5 separate regions of the Homo sapiens genome follow, and all the other regions are linked to region 5. Evidence: promoter capture Hi-C in 16 types of primary human blood cells and fetal thymus (Javierre and others, 2016). All regions are on one chromosome and are shown on one strand. The core of a region is centred on a gene start or on the middle of the fragment in contact, and the rest is flanking DNA. Distances in the headings are between cores, read along the strand shown.

Evidence for each region. The method cuts DNA at HindIII sites, captures the fragments that hold promoters and counts their contacts. A CHiCAGO score of 5 or more calls a contact.
Region 1: a contact is called between a fragment that was not itself captured here and the fragment with the promoter of TSR1 in region 5, in 3 of 17 cell types (endothelial precursors, activated CD4 T cells and M2 macrophages). The highest score is 8.3, in endothelial precursors.
Region 2: a contact is called between a fragment that was not itself captured here and the fragment with the promoter of TSR1 in region 5, in 1 of 17 cell types (erythroblasts). The highest score is 5.1, in erythroblasts.
Region 3: a contact is called between a fragment that was not itself captured here and the fragment with the promoter of TSR1 in region 5, in 1 of 17 cell types (endothelial precursors). The highest score is 6.9, in endothelial precursors.
Region 4: a fragment that was not itself captured here is called in contact with the fragment with the promoter of TSR1 in region 5 in 1 of 17 cell types (M2 macrophages); the score reaches 5.6 in M2 macrophages.

What each region holds. Positions count from the first base shown.
Region 1 is chr17:1,881,509-1,884,208 of GRCh38, reverse strand. It overlaps RPA1 (replication protein A1), which reads right to left. Exons shown (of 17, transcript NM_002945.5): 13 at 265-397. Among named protein-coding and RNA genes, the nearest start is that of RPA1, 53 kb to the right of the region's middle. RefSeq lists a silencer at 1,138-1,187. The HindIII fragment of the contact is 2,906 bases long and covers 1-2,700 here.
Region 2 is chr17:2,667,560-2,670,259 of GRCh38, reverse strand. It overlaps PAFAH1B1 (platelet activating factor acetylhydrolase 1b regulatory subunit 1), which reads right to left. Exons shown (of 11, transcript NM_000430.4): 6 at 1-97. Among named protein-coding and RNA genes, the nearest start is that of MIR6776, 24 kb to the left of the region's middle. The HindIII fragment of the contact is 2,481 bases long and covers 10-2,490 here.
Region 3 is chr17:1,911,994-1,914,703 of GRCh38, reverse strand. No RefSeq gene overlaps it. Among named protein-coding and RNA genes, the nearest start is that of RPA1, 83 kb to the right of the region's middle. The HindIII fragment of the contact is 6,793 bases long and covers 1-2,710 here.
Region 4 is chr17:1,859,539-1,862,238 of GRCh38, reverse strand. All of the region lies in intron 5 of RPA1 (replication protein A1), which reads right to left. Among named protein-coding and RNA genes, the nearest start is that of RPA1, 31 kb to the right of the region's middle. The HindIII fragment of the contact is 481 bases long and covers 1,189-1,669 here.
Region 5 is chr17:2,335,015-2,337,714 of GRCh38, reverse strand. TSR1 (TSR1 ribosome maturation factor) reads left to right here and starts at 1,258. Exons shown (of 15, transcript NM_018128.5): 1 at 1,258-1,384; 2 at 1,575-1,678; 3 at 1,985-2,204; 4 at 2,321-2,455. The coding sequence starts at 1,288. SGSM2 (small G protein signaling modulator 2) reads right to left here and starts at 214. Exons shown (of 24, transcript NM_014853.3): 1 at 1-214. The coding sequence starts at 26. RefSeq lists silencers at 71-180, 281-590, 621-750 and an enhancer at 981-1,090. The HindIII fragment of the contact is 5,731 bases long and covers 1-2,700 here.

The DNA of each region.
Region 1 (2,700 bases), core at 193-2,692, 450 kb after region 5:
CCTGCTCCAAGATCCCTCTAGGAATTGACTCTAAGAGTTCTTCAGACTCTCCTGCCTCCAGTCCCCTGAGGGGTAACACATATTCCCATGAGCACACCTGGCTGCTTCCCTCTGCCAGTGATTCTCAACCCCCATGCCACGCTCAGGTCACAGCCCCGGGTAAGAATTACGGCTCTGACAGCTGGTGCTGGAAACCAAGTTTCTAAATCCATCCTTCTGCACACTTTACAGCCCTTTGTGAAGGTGGTTAGGAATGCTGGGTACCTTGTCGCCTTGGCCCAGGTTCTCGGATTTGACCTCATACAAGGTTTTCCAGTTGGTGTTACTCCCTCCGACTCCGCCGCTCTTTAGATCAGAGATGGAAACACCATCTAAGGCTTGTCCTTCTGCGTCAAACCTGAAAACGTGAACGAATAACGATGACGAGCGCTTGATGTGACATGCTTCTGCTTCTCCACATGCAACTTGCTGCTACGCGACAGACACAGGTTTCCCACCACCCGCCCAGCTTTCACACAGGTCACGGTCATGTCGGCTGAAGCTGGTATCTTCGTAATTATATATTTTTTATAATATTTAAATTAAAAAAAATTGTGTCAGAGTTTCACTCTGTCACCCAGGCTGGAGTGCAATGATGCAATCATGGCTCAAGGCAGCTTTGACCCCCTGAGCTCAGTGATCCTCCCACCTTTGCCCTGCTAAGTAACTGGGACTTCCATGCCCAGGCCCATTAAAAAAATTTTTTTTAGGCTGGGCGCAGTGGCTCATGCCTGTAACCCCAGCATTTTGGGAGGATGAGGCGGGCGGATCACGAGGTCAAGAGATCAAGACTATCCTGGCCAACATGGTGAAACCCCGTCTCTACTAAAAATACAAAATTAGCCGGGCGTGGTGGTGGGTGCCTGTAATCCCAGCTACTCGGGAGGCTGAGGCAGGAGAATCACTTGTAGGCAATTCTCAGGAGGCGGAGGTTGCAGTGAGCCGAGATGGCGCCATTGCACTCCAGCCTGGGCAACAAGACCGAAACTCCGTCTCGAAAAAAAAATTTTTTTAAGAGATGGGGTCTTGCTCTGTTGGCCAGGCTGATCTCAAACTCCTGGACTCAGACAATCCTCCTCCCTCGGCCTCCCAAAGTGCTGGGATTACAGGGCGTGAGGCACTGCTCCTGGCCCAAAGTCTACTGAAGAAACGGAATGACCTTTCTTTGAATCTCAGTTGCTTTGATGCCCCCCAGTGGTGAAGAGAATCAGTGCCAAAGTACCAAAGAATCTTTTCTTAAACTAGCCTTGCATATTGGCAGTGGCCAGACCACCCCAGGCCTAAAATCAGAAACTGGGAAAGTCAACAACCCGTAAGCTATAAAGTGGCCGTCTGGGGTAGTCCTTTAATCTGCTAATGCTCATTCTCAGGCAGCAGCTGCGTGGTGATCATCACCGAAATGTACCAGTGTGGAAACGGACAGCCAATATACCGTGGTAGCAAAAGTGTTTCCATAAAAGGCCTCCTATGCCTGATACAGAAGCCAAAAGTGGTTTTTTTGTTTTGAGACAGAGTCTTGCTTTGTCACCCAGGATGGAGTGTGGTGGTACCAACTTGGCTCGCTGCAACCTCCACCTCCTGGCAAGTGATTCTCGTGCCTCAGCCTCCCGAGTAGCTGGGACTACAGGCACGCACCGAGTAGCTGGGACTACAGGCCCGGCTGATTTTTGTATTTTTTGTAGAGACGAGGTTTCACCATGTTGGCCAGGCTGGTCTTGAACTCCTGGCCTCAAGCAATTGTCCACCTCGGCCTCCCAAAGTGCTGGAATTAAGGTATGAGCCACCGTGCCTGGCCCAAAAGATTTTATAAACCAGAGCAACTTATCAGAAGGCATTATCTTTTTTCTTGTAGATTTACCTTCTTAGTGAAATTTTACTTTTGCTAATATCGAAGCTAAATTAATTTGTATTAAATTATTATGAAAACTGATTGTACTTCTTGATCACACATCAATTGATATGAAGGAAAAGGGGCCAAGGAGAAAGTGGCTCGGGAACACAGTGGTGGCGGAGAGGAGCTGGCCGGAGATGAAAGGCCAAATACCATCCCAAGGTGGGTAACCACACAAAGAACAGGTTCCTTAAACAGAGACCATCTAACAGAATGGATGTTACCCTGAGCTGCAGACAGCTGCCTTCTCCTGTCAGGTAAGCGGCTAAATCCCTCACAGGGGCACAGCAAGGCCCATCCATCTGTTTCACCACTACTAGCTACACAAGTTCACGGTTTCAAAAGCTCCAAGGAGACATTTGCCACCAAAGATCACTCGTCAGGAGTCAAGGCGGCCCTTCTTACAATAAAAACTCTGCATTGTTATAGCCAAGATCTAAACATCTCTAATCCTTGTCCAGGTATCATGTATGCACTGAGCTTGTCTTTGATCAATGCCAAGTTATTTTATTCTGGGGACAGCCGTGCTTTTTATGTTGACTGGGATCATGATTATTGACAAGTAAAAGATGAAGACATTAATGTGGGAATGCAATTTTAATGTGGGAATGCGATTTTAATGTGGGAATGCAATTAACCTGGAGTCGAACTCCAGAGCCTAAAAGAAAATCAAGCAATAAGAAAAAAGCAAATCTGTGGCTAGTTCTGGTCAGACTATGAACGGGCCCTGCAGTTCGGCAGATACGTGTGGACCGTACTACTCATGAGGA
Region 2 (2,700 bases), core at 1-2,500, 330 kb before region 5:
CCAGAAGCTTGCCGCTGTGGTCGAATGAAATGTCCTGTACAGAGTCTGTATGTCCTTTAAGAGTTCGTTCAAAATCTCCAGTCTCATAATCCCACACCTGTCAAGTGAACAGAAAATTGGTTAACACCAACTCCATCACTCCTTTCTTGTTTCACATTTGCACTCAGCAGGCCAGTCTGGCACCTTACTGAGTAACTAACCGAACAAGTAACAAAGGATAACTATTTTAGAAATATTGTATCTCATGTATAAATTGGTCTTTTTTTCTACAGGGAAAACTAATGTTGCAATTATTAAAATCTATCTCTAGAACCACATTTATAAGGTTTCTATCACATAACCAACTGTAATAGTGATAAGGTATATAAAGTCACAAGACATAGTCCGCTCCCTGTCTCAGAGCAGGAATGACATGTAAATAAGGAAACTTAAGGGGAAGAAATAAGAGGAAAGAAAGAGAAAGAGATGGAAAGGAAAGGGAAAGAAAGGGGAAAGGGAAGGGGAAGGGAAGGAGCTTCAGAGGGCTATAGCAGGCATTTGTATGTAGAATATTTGAGGAACAATGGATGAATACTCGATCCTACTAGACCATCAGAACTCAGACATCTAAAGGGCCAAGGAAAGATTTCAGAAGATGTTAACTGTTCACGAATAGCAAATGAACAAGAGCATATGTCATTTTGAGTTAAAAAATGAAATATGGCCGGGCGCAGTGGCTCACGCCTGTAATCCCAGCACTTAGGAAGGCCAAGGCGGGCGGACCACGAGGTCAGTTCGAGACTATCCTGGCTAATATGGTGAAACCCCGTCTCTACTAAAAAACACAAAAAATTAGCCAGGCACAGTGGTGGGCGCCTGTACTCCCGGCTACTCGGGAGGCTGAGGCAGAATTGCTTGAACCTGGGAGGCGGAGGCTGCAGTGAGCCAAGATCATACCACTGCACTCCAGCCTGGGTAACAAGAGTGAAACTCCATCTCAAAAAAAAAAAAAAAATTCTAATTGCTGGCTAAATCACTATTATAGAAAACATTATAGTGAACATTTTTTAATATAAAAAAATTCTGTCCTCATTTTATAATACCTAGGTCAGACAGTAATGGGGAGAAACAATTAGTGGGTCAAAAAGTATAAACTTTTAAAGCCTTCATATACTCTATTAAATTGATATCCCGTAAGACTGTATCATATGTAATGAGAATGACTACTTTATCAAAATCTTATCATCACTGGGAATTCTTATTTAATAGGTAAAATACCTTGACAATTTGACACACATATATATGTATGTGTGTCTCACTCTTGTCGCCCAGGCTGGAGTGCAGTGGCGCGATCTTGGCTCACTGCAAGCTCCGCCTCCCGGGTTCACGCCATTCTCCTGACTCAGCCTCCCGAGTAGCTGGGACTACAGGAGCCCGCCATCACTCCCGGCTAATTTTTTGTATTTTTTAGTAGAGACGGGGTTTCACCATGTTAGCCAGGATGGTCTCGATCTCCTGACCTCATGATCCACCCACCTTGGCCTCCCAAAGTGCTGGGATTACAGGCATGAGCTACCGTGCCCAGTCCAATTTTTTTGTTTTTAAGACAGGGTCTCACTCTTCGCCCAGGCTGGAGTACACTGGCTCAATCATAGCTCACTGCAGCCTCCAACTCCCAGGCTCATGTGATCCTCCCATCTCAGCCTCCTGAGTAGCTAGGACTACAGGCATGCACCACCATACCTGGCTAATTTTAAGTAGAGACGAGGTCTTGCTATGTTGCCCAGGCTGCTCTCTAACTCCTGAGCTCAAGCAGTCCTCCCACCTTGGCCTCCCAAAGTCCTAGGACTATAGGCATGAGCTACCACACCCGGCCCATAATTTCAGTGTTTATTTCTTCTGCTGTTAGTAGTAAGGCCAAACCGTCGTTACTATTTGGTTAGTTGTAACTACCTTTTTGAGACAGTCTCGCTCTGTCGCCCAGGCTGGAGTGCAGTGGAGCGATCTTGGCTAACTGCAACCTGTCTCCTGGGTTCAAGCGAATTTCCTGCCTCAGCCTTCCAAGTAGCTGGGACTACAGGCGCACGCTGCCATGCCCAGCTAATTTTTTTGTATTTTAGTAGAGATGGGGTTTCTCCGTGTTGCTCAGGCTGGTCTTGAACTCCTGAGCTCAGGCAATCCACCCGCCTCGGCCTCCCAAAGTGCTGGGATTACAGGCGTGAGCCACCGTGCCCGGCCGATTGGTTATACTTTTGTAAATGAAACTTAATATCTGTAACTTACTTTGAAATAACCCTTAGGATAGAGGCATCTACCTAAATCTACCTATATTGCAACTATCTTATCTTTCTGTAGGTGGTTTATACAACGGTCATTTTATTGTGTCCGGAACAAAGGCAACTTAAAAACAACTCTTTTCCTAATTAAAAAAGCACAACATTAAAAGGTAATAATATTTTTACTGTGAAAAAAATTTTTTAATGAAATACGTAATTTATAAAATGAAAAGCTTGTATATTCCCACACTCCTGGAAAGCCAATTTTAAATACATCAAGGAAAGCCCAATTTAAATGAATCCTCTACTGAATTCTTTTGCAGTATAGATTCACCCTATCAATTACTAGTTTTGTCAATCAGTATTTCACACATAACCTCCGTTTAAAGGTAAGACACACACTTTTCATTCTCCAAGAACAAAAATTGTTCAAGCACAAGGTGAT
Region 3 (2,710 bases), core at 40-2,539, 420 kb after region 5:
CTGGTGGAATGTGGCTGAAAGCTATTTACTGCATGCTTGGTGCCACTATTTTCTTTCTTTCTTTTTTTTTTTTTTTGAGACGGAGTCTCGCTCTGTCCCCCAGGCTGCAGTGCAGTGCTGCGATCTCGGCTCACTGCAAGCTCCGCCTCCCGGGTTCACGCCATTCTCCTGCCTCAGCCTCCCGAGTAGCTGGGACTACAGGCGCCCACCACCACGCCTGGCTAATTTTTTGTATTTTTAGTAGAGATGGGGTTTCACAGTTTTAGCCAGGATGGTCTCGATCTCCTGACCTTGTGATCCGCCCGCCTCGGTCTCCCAAAGTGCTGGGATTACAGGCATGAGCCACTGCGCCCAGCCGGTGCCACTATTTTCAAAAGGTGATTTTTGAAAAGGTTGTTCTTCCAGTTGCTGATGTGCCTTTTGTGTGTGTCTGTGTGTGTGTGTGTGTGTGTGTGTGTGTGTGTGTGTGTGATGGGAGCCTGTGCCCAGGGCCCCGTGCTCCTCGGAGCTGGATCAGATGCCGATAAGTGATAAGAACCCCAGTCACTAAGGGTGCAGCCATACCTGACGCAGAAGAAGGCACTGGGGGGTGAAGGAAGGCGAGCTGGGCCGTGAGGATTCGAACCCGACAGCCCCGGAGTGAGGGATCCCAGTTACGAATGAATACAATGGAAACCTGAGTGAACCCACGGCTTCTCCACTGACCCAGCCGAAAGGACACAGGGTAATTCAAGATGACAGACACAATAGGCTGCCTGTGTTCCCGGGGCTGCCGAAACAGACGACCGCAAACTGGGTGGCTGGAAACAAGAGAAACTCATTCTCTCCAGCTCTGGAGGCCAGAAGTCTCAAATCAAGGTGTTGGCCAGTTCGTTCCTTCTGGAGGCTCTCGGGGAGAATCTGTTCCATGCCTTTCTTTTTTTCTTGTCTTTTTTTTTTTTTGAGATAGGGTCTCACTCTGTCACCCAGGCTAGTGTGCCGTGGCATAATCATGGCTCTGGAGGCTCTGCCTCCTGGGGCTCAAGCCATCCTCCCTCCCCAGCCTCCCTCCTGAGTAGCTGGGACTACAGGCATGTGACACCACGGCTACATTTTTTTTTTTTTTCAGAGCTGGGGTCTCGCCGTGTTGTCCAGGCTGTGTTCTGTGCCTTTCTCTTGGCCTCTGGTGGCTGCACACAGTCTTTGTTGTTCCTGGGTTTGTAGGAATACCCCTCCAGCCTCTCTGCCTGTCTTCACGTCCCCTTCTCTGAGCGTCCTGTCTCCTTCTTCTGTTGTCCTAGAAGGATGCTTGTCATTGGATTTAGGGCCCACCCTAGCCAGGATGACCTCGTCCTGCAGTCCTTAACATAAACACATCGACAAGGACCCTTTTTCCCATCAAGGTTTCATTCACTGTTTCCAGGTGGACGTATCTTGTGGGTAGCCACCGTTCAACCTACTGTGATAGCCACAGTGACCCAGAGAACTGCTCCCAGGACAAAGCCTTCTCTCTCAGCCCCCACTGGATCCTGTGCTGTGAATGGGAACTTCCCGGCCACCCCTTGGGTTACCATAATTTTGGTTTTTTGTTTGTTTGTTTTATTTTCTTGAGACAGAGTCTCGCTCTGTTGCCCAGGCTGGAGTGCAATGGTGTGATCTCGGCTCACCGTAACCTCCGCCTCCCGGGTTCAAGCAATTCTCCTGCGTCAGCCTCCCGAGTAGCTGGGATTACAGGCGCCCACCACCACGCCCACCTAATTTTTGTATTTTTAGTAGAGACGGGGTTTCGCCATGCTGGCCAGGCTGGTCTCGAACTCCTGACCTCAAGTGATCCGCCCGCCTCAGCCTCCCAACGTGCTGCGATTACAGGCGTGAGCCACTGTGCCTAGCCGAGTAACTGTAATTTTGGATCCATAACAAAGCCACAGGGGCATTGGACCTTTCCCAAAGACAGGCCACACCTGCCTAAACCATGTCCCTGTCTCAGAGGGTCACTCAGCCCTGAGTCCCTTCTCGTTGAGGCGGTTTCTAAAGTGGGAGACCACAGCAGAGCATCTTGCCCACAAGGCACCCTCAGGGAGGAACGGAGCCAAAAGGGAAGTCTGAGCCAAGCACGGGAACCAGGGATGCTCCTCCTCACGTGTCCTCACCGGAAGCTCGCAGTCGCCAGGGCCAAGCACAGGGCTCTGCTCCTACAGGGGGCTTTGCAGACGTTTACCAGCCTTTTTTTACCAGCTCATTCTCCTCTGAAGCAACCTATTATGTCGCAGGTTGCTTCTGATCATTAGAAAGCACTTTTTTTGGTTGAGTCAAAACCAACCTGCTTGCAATGCTGTTCACCCACTGTCCCAAAGTTGCCTTCAGGAGCTCTAAGAAATGACGGTCACCACCAGACTCCAGACGCTGCCTCATGCTAATCACCTGAAGGCATGAAAACATCCCCCCAGAGGTCCCAGGGCGCCAGCAGCTGGGCCAGACTGACCAAAGGAATTTCCATTTTTCCTTGAGCGTGGATAGCAACCATCACTGCATTTTAAAAAACATAGCCCACGTCTCCCAGAATTAGCTGCATAAAAGAAAAAAAAAAAGGTTAGCCCACGATACGCTAGGTGTTTTATGTATGATATTTCTAATTCTTACAACTGGCCTGGAAGGCACGCGTTAATATCATCCTTGCTTTACACACGAGGGAATAAATTCTGAGGTCAGGTAAATGGAAGATGGGGGATTT
Region 4 (2,700 bases), core at 180-2,679, 480 kb after region 5:
ACATAGACTCCATCGCTACAAAAAAAAAAAAAAAAAAAAAAAAATACGGTTGGGGGCGGTGGCTCACGCCTGTAATCCCAGCACTTTGGGAGGCTGAGGCGGGCAGATCACGAGGTCAGGAGATGGAGACCATCCTGGCTAACACAGTGAAACCCCGTCTCTACTGAAAATACAAAAAAAATCACCCGGGCATGGTGGTGGGTGCCTGTAGTCCCAGCTACTCAAGCAGGAGAATGGCGTGAATCCGGGAGGTGGAGCTTGCAGTCAACCGAGACCGCGCCACTGCACTCCAGCCTGGGCGACACAGTGAGACTCCGTCTCAAAAAATAAAAAAATAAAAACAAAAATTAGCAGGGTGCAGTGGTGCACGCCTGTAATCCCAGCTACTGAGGAGGCTGAGGCAAGGAGGATTGCTTGAGTCCAGGAGGCGGAGGTTGCAGTGAGCCAAGATCACGCCACTGGACTCCAGCCTGGGTGACAGTGTGAGACTCTTAAAAAAGAAAAAAAAAAAAGAGAGAGCACCACATTCTAATCTCCCATAGCGTGAAGTTAATAAACAAATGTTTCAACTGAAAAAATTAACGAAGAGCAGCACAAATGTGTTATTTAGAAATATGGAGACAAACAGAGAAGAAACAGCTGTGAGATTTGAAACAGACTGTCTCTAGACAGGAGTCAGAGGCCAAAGAAAAGTGAGGCAGGAGAATGCTGTTTTGTTTTTAAGGACACACCTCGCAAAAATATTCAACTTTTAAAACTACGTACCGGACAAATGGAGCAACAGAGACCAGGTTCACCCTAACACCTAACATAACCCCCTCCCCCCACCAGAAAGGGAGAAAATACGTGAGACGCATGGTTTTCAATGAGGGGTAGCGCCTGCTGTGCACAGGAAAGCGAGCGAGTGGGTCTGCACCAGCTCAGTGCCTCAAGGGCTTAGGGGGCCTGCCAGAACCCGAGGTGCAGAAATGGGGGCCGAGAGTCTGGGGAGATCGCCGTCTAGCTGGCCGGACAGAGTAGCAGAGAAGAGAGGGCTGTACACAGAGAACTCCAGAAATGGGTGGCAGGTTTCCTGGGTAGTCAGCAGAGTCCTGGTTGGCCCGTGTGTGTGTGTGGACACGATCTGAGGCCAGGGTGAGAATCATCTGAGAAGGCCAGAGGGAACCATGCCTGTGTTTACAGCAAGCTTGAAATAGTACCTGTTTCTACCAGTCAGATGGGAAAAATTCATATTCATGGGGCACGAGGTAGAACAGTCTGTCAGGTCTCGATTCAGTATTGGGAATAACTACACCTAGACTAAATGCAGCTCTCTGATTCTCTAATAAATCTTAAAAGCAACACACCAAAAGATCAAACTGTCTCCAAGTTAACTGTATCCCTGAAAAAAGCTCAAGAATAATTACAGGATTACAAAAGTTTCTAGCACCCAACGAGGTACGAATCCCAATGTCTGGCATTCGGTCCGAGGGCCAGGCATGAAAAGCAGCAGGAAAATATGATCCATGATCGGAGAGGCCGGGATCAACTGACGGAAACAAATCCGGACCTAACACAGACACCAGAATCCACAGACAAGGACCTTACAACAAATACTGTCATTGTGCTCTGTATGTCCCAAAAATTAAGCAGAGATGTAGATGAGTTTTTAAAGACCCAAAATCAAGCTTCTAGGGATAAAAACTATACTATCTGAGAAGAAAAATACACTCAATGGGATTAACAGCAGATTAGGCACTGCCTGAGAAACCATTAGTGAACTTGAACGGCTAGCAATAGAAAGTATACACAATGGCCAGGCACAGTAGCTTATGCCTGTAATTCAGCCTTTTGAGAGGCTAAGGCAGGAGGATTGAGGCCAGGAGTTTGAGACCAGCCTGGGCAACAAAGTGAGACCCCGCCCCTACAAATAAAAAGAAAAGAAATGAGCCGGGCGTGGTGGCACTGCCGTCCCAGCCCCAGTCCAGGCAGTCCACAGGCAGGCCCGGCACTCCACCTCCCAGACTACAGGTGCAGCCTGCAGTCCCAACTACTTGGGAGGCTGAGGCAGGAGGATTGCTGGAGGCCAGGAATTCAAGACCAGTGTGGGCAACATGGCAGGACTCCATGTCCACAAAAAATAAAATTAGGCCAATTATGGTGGCTCACGCCTTTAACCCCAGCACTTTGGGAGGCTGAGGCGGGCAGATCATGACGTCAAGAGATGGAGACCATCCTGGCCAACATGGTGAAACCCTATCTCTACTAAAAATACAAAAATCAGCTGAGCATGGTGATGCGTGCCTGTAGCCCTAGCTACTCAGGAGGCTGAGGCAGGAGAATCGCTTGAACCTGGGAGGCGGAGGTTGCAGTGAGCCGAGATCACGCCACTGCACTCCAGCCTGGCAACAGAGTGAGACTTCGTCTCAAAAATAAATAAATAAATAAAAAACAAAATAAAATTAGCTGGGCGTGGTGGCACATGCCTGTAGTCCCAGCTACTCAGGAGGCGGAGGTGGGAGGATTGCTTGAGCCCAAGGTGTTGAGGCTGCACTGAGCCGTGAATGTACCACTGTACTCCAGCCTGGGCAACAGAGCAAGATGTTGTCTCTAGGAGAGAAAAAACAAAACAAAACAAAAAAAACGCCAAAGTGGCTATGCTAATATCAAAGCAGACTTCAAAGCACAGAATTTCCCAGGGATAAAATCATTTCATAATAA
Region 5 (2,700 bases), core at 9-2,508:
TTGACTGCGTCCTCTGCGCTGCCCATGGTGTGGCAGGAGGCGGCGCCGAGCGGTCCTCAGAGCCCCCGCGCCCTCGCCGCCTCCGCGCCTCTCGGCTCAGCGCCCCACGCGCAAGGCGGAGCCCCCGCCCGCCGCGCTCCCGGCCCGCCGCCGCCGCCGCCGCCGCAGCCACTGCCCGGTGCTCGGCTCCGCAGCCATCTTCCGAGCCCCGCACAGACGTCAGGCGGCAGGCCCGGCCCCTTCCCACAGCCGGAGGGGGGTTGCGCACAGCGACGGGGGATCGGGGCGGGGAGAGGCCGTGCGCGCCTAGGGGCGGCAGACCCGGGCGCGCGCCACGGGGGTCGCTGTCATGGCAACGCACCCGCTCCCGCATGGAGGGCGCGAAGCCGCATTGTGAGCGCTGGCCCTGGAGCCCGCGGCCCCGCGGCTGAGAGCGAGCCTCGGTCCCGCTGAAGCTCCCCTGACTTCTGCCTGCTCCCTCTCCCGACGGGACGGAAAGGGCCGGGGCTCGGGCATGGGGTCCCCTGCGGTCCGAGCCTGCCCACGGCGAAGCCGGTGCAGCCTGGCCCCGTGACCCCTCTGAATCCCCGTCCGGCCGTCGCCGTGCAGTTGTCAAGTTTCTGGGAAGATTAGTGGGAGCGCAGCCGCCCGAGCCCGACGGCCGGAGGGTCGCGGCCAGTCCCCCTTGCCGGGTCGCCACGTCCCACAAGGTCCTTCCCGGCCGCTCCGTGGGAGGCGGGGCGCAGGTTGGAGTAACAGGGACGGGCTTGAGCTGGTACGGAACCGGGCAAGGTGAGAGAAGTGTCTTCCACGCGATTCCCAAGCCTCGCTAGGGAATCGAGGGAGAAGAAAGGTTGCTCAGAGTGATAAAGAACATGCCGTTGCAAACGGAAGAGCAACGTGCCCGAATCTAGGTGACAGGAAGGGCTTAGGCCTTTTCGGCACGAATGGAGCCTTCCAGTCAACATGCTTCTACGTGATGCAGCTTTATAGCGCAAAAAAATGACAATGCAAGGGGTACAAACAGCCCTGCTAGACCAACAGCCCGAGCCTCGACAGTCTACATCCGGCGCCTTCAAGCCCCCAACCACACACTGCGAAGTGGGAAAAGTTCCCAGCGCGGCTTGGCGAACCCGCTAACACGGCGCTCTCACGAGCTGCTGGAAAAGACCTTCGCGAGAGGGCGCAGGGAGTCCCGCTCCCTGGAGGGCCCGCCCCCTTGGAGGGGACCGGAAGCGCTTGTCCTGGCCCGGAAGCAGTGCTGACTCCGTACACGCGCGCTGCGGCATGGCGGCCCACCGCCCCGGCCCGCTCAAGCAGCAGAATAAAGCTCATAAAGGCGGACGGCATCGGGGTCGGGGATCTGCACAGCGGGACGGCAAGGGTAAGGAGATAACGTAGAAGGAATAAGGGCTATTTGGCCGTTATTAACTCTTTTTCCTCATGCCCAGACTGAGCTTCTGTCTCCCGTCTGGGCTCCACGCGAAAGGCCCTTTCTAAGGTGGGCGGAGAGGAGTCCCTTTTCTTGACCTTGTGGGGCCGATCACACCAGCCCCTTCTAATCTGCCATTCAGGCCGTCTGGCACTGAAAACCCTAAGCAAGAAGGTGAGAAAAGAACTCAGCAGAGTCGACCAGAGGCATCGCGCCAGCCAGCTCCGAAAGCAGAAGAAGGAGGCGGTGAGAGGAGCGGGATTTGGGAGAATGCGGCTTCTCTGGTGTTCTAGGTGGCTAATGCCTCGAAGTGGAAAATGAGACCGGGAGGAGGGTCCAGGGACAGAGCATAGCCCTAGAGCACGTGTCGAGCGTGCAGGTCTAGCATTCTTTGCTTTGGTCAGAATTCCTGCCACCCCGCTGGCATACCTGTGGTCTTTTACTAGAGAGATGCTGGTTTTGGGTAGGGGGAGCATCTGTGGGAGTGGAAATGCAATGCTGGAGTGAAGTACTGAGACACTGAGATGTTCTCGGATATCTTTCTATTTTCAGGTTCTGGCAGAGAAGAGACAGCTGGGTGGCAAGGATGGCCCTCCTCATCAGGTACTGGTGGTGCCCCTGCACAGCAGAATTTCCCTGCCAGAGGCCATGCAGCTGCTTCAAGATAGGGACACTGGAACAGTACACTTGAATGAATTGGGAAACACCCAGAACTTTATGCTGCTGTGCCCCCGCTTGAAACATCGGTGGTTTTTCACCTCAGCAAGGCCAGGTTAGAGTATACACCAATATTTTGTATTATGTTTGAGTAGTGGTATTTTTTTTTTTTTTTTTTAGAATAATGTGCTGGTGCCAACCACCTCTTCTTACTGTGTCTTCTATCTGCAGGGGATCTGCACGTTGTGTTAGACATGGCTAAAGTAGCTGATACCATCCTGTTCCTCCTTGATCCACTAGAAGGCTGGGACAGCACCGGTGATTACTGTCTTTCCTGCCTCTTTGCTCAGGGCCTTCCGACCTATAGTAAGTGAGTTAGCATTTATTGTGCACCTTTAATTTGTCAGGCACTATGCCTGGTATTTGATACAGGAATACAACTGATGGATCATATTCAGCTGGTGGTGGGATGTACACATATGGATTAAACTTGATCCATTGTTTACAGATTATCACTCAGGGTGTCTTTTTGTTTTTGGCTGTCCTTTGCCCAGAGAAACAAGGATATGAAGTTTGATTTCACTGTGAAATTCCTTCAGGGTAGTTCAGTG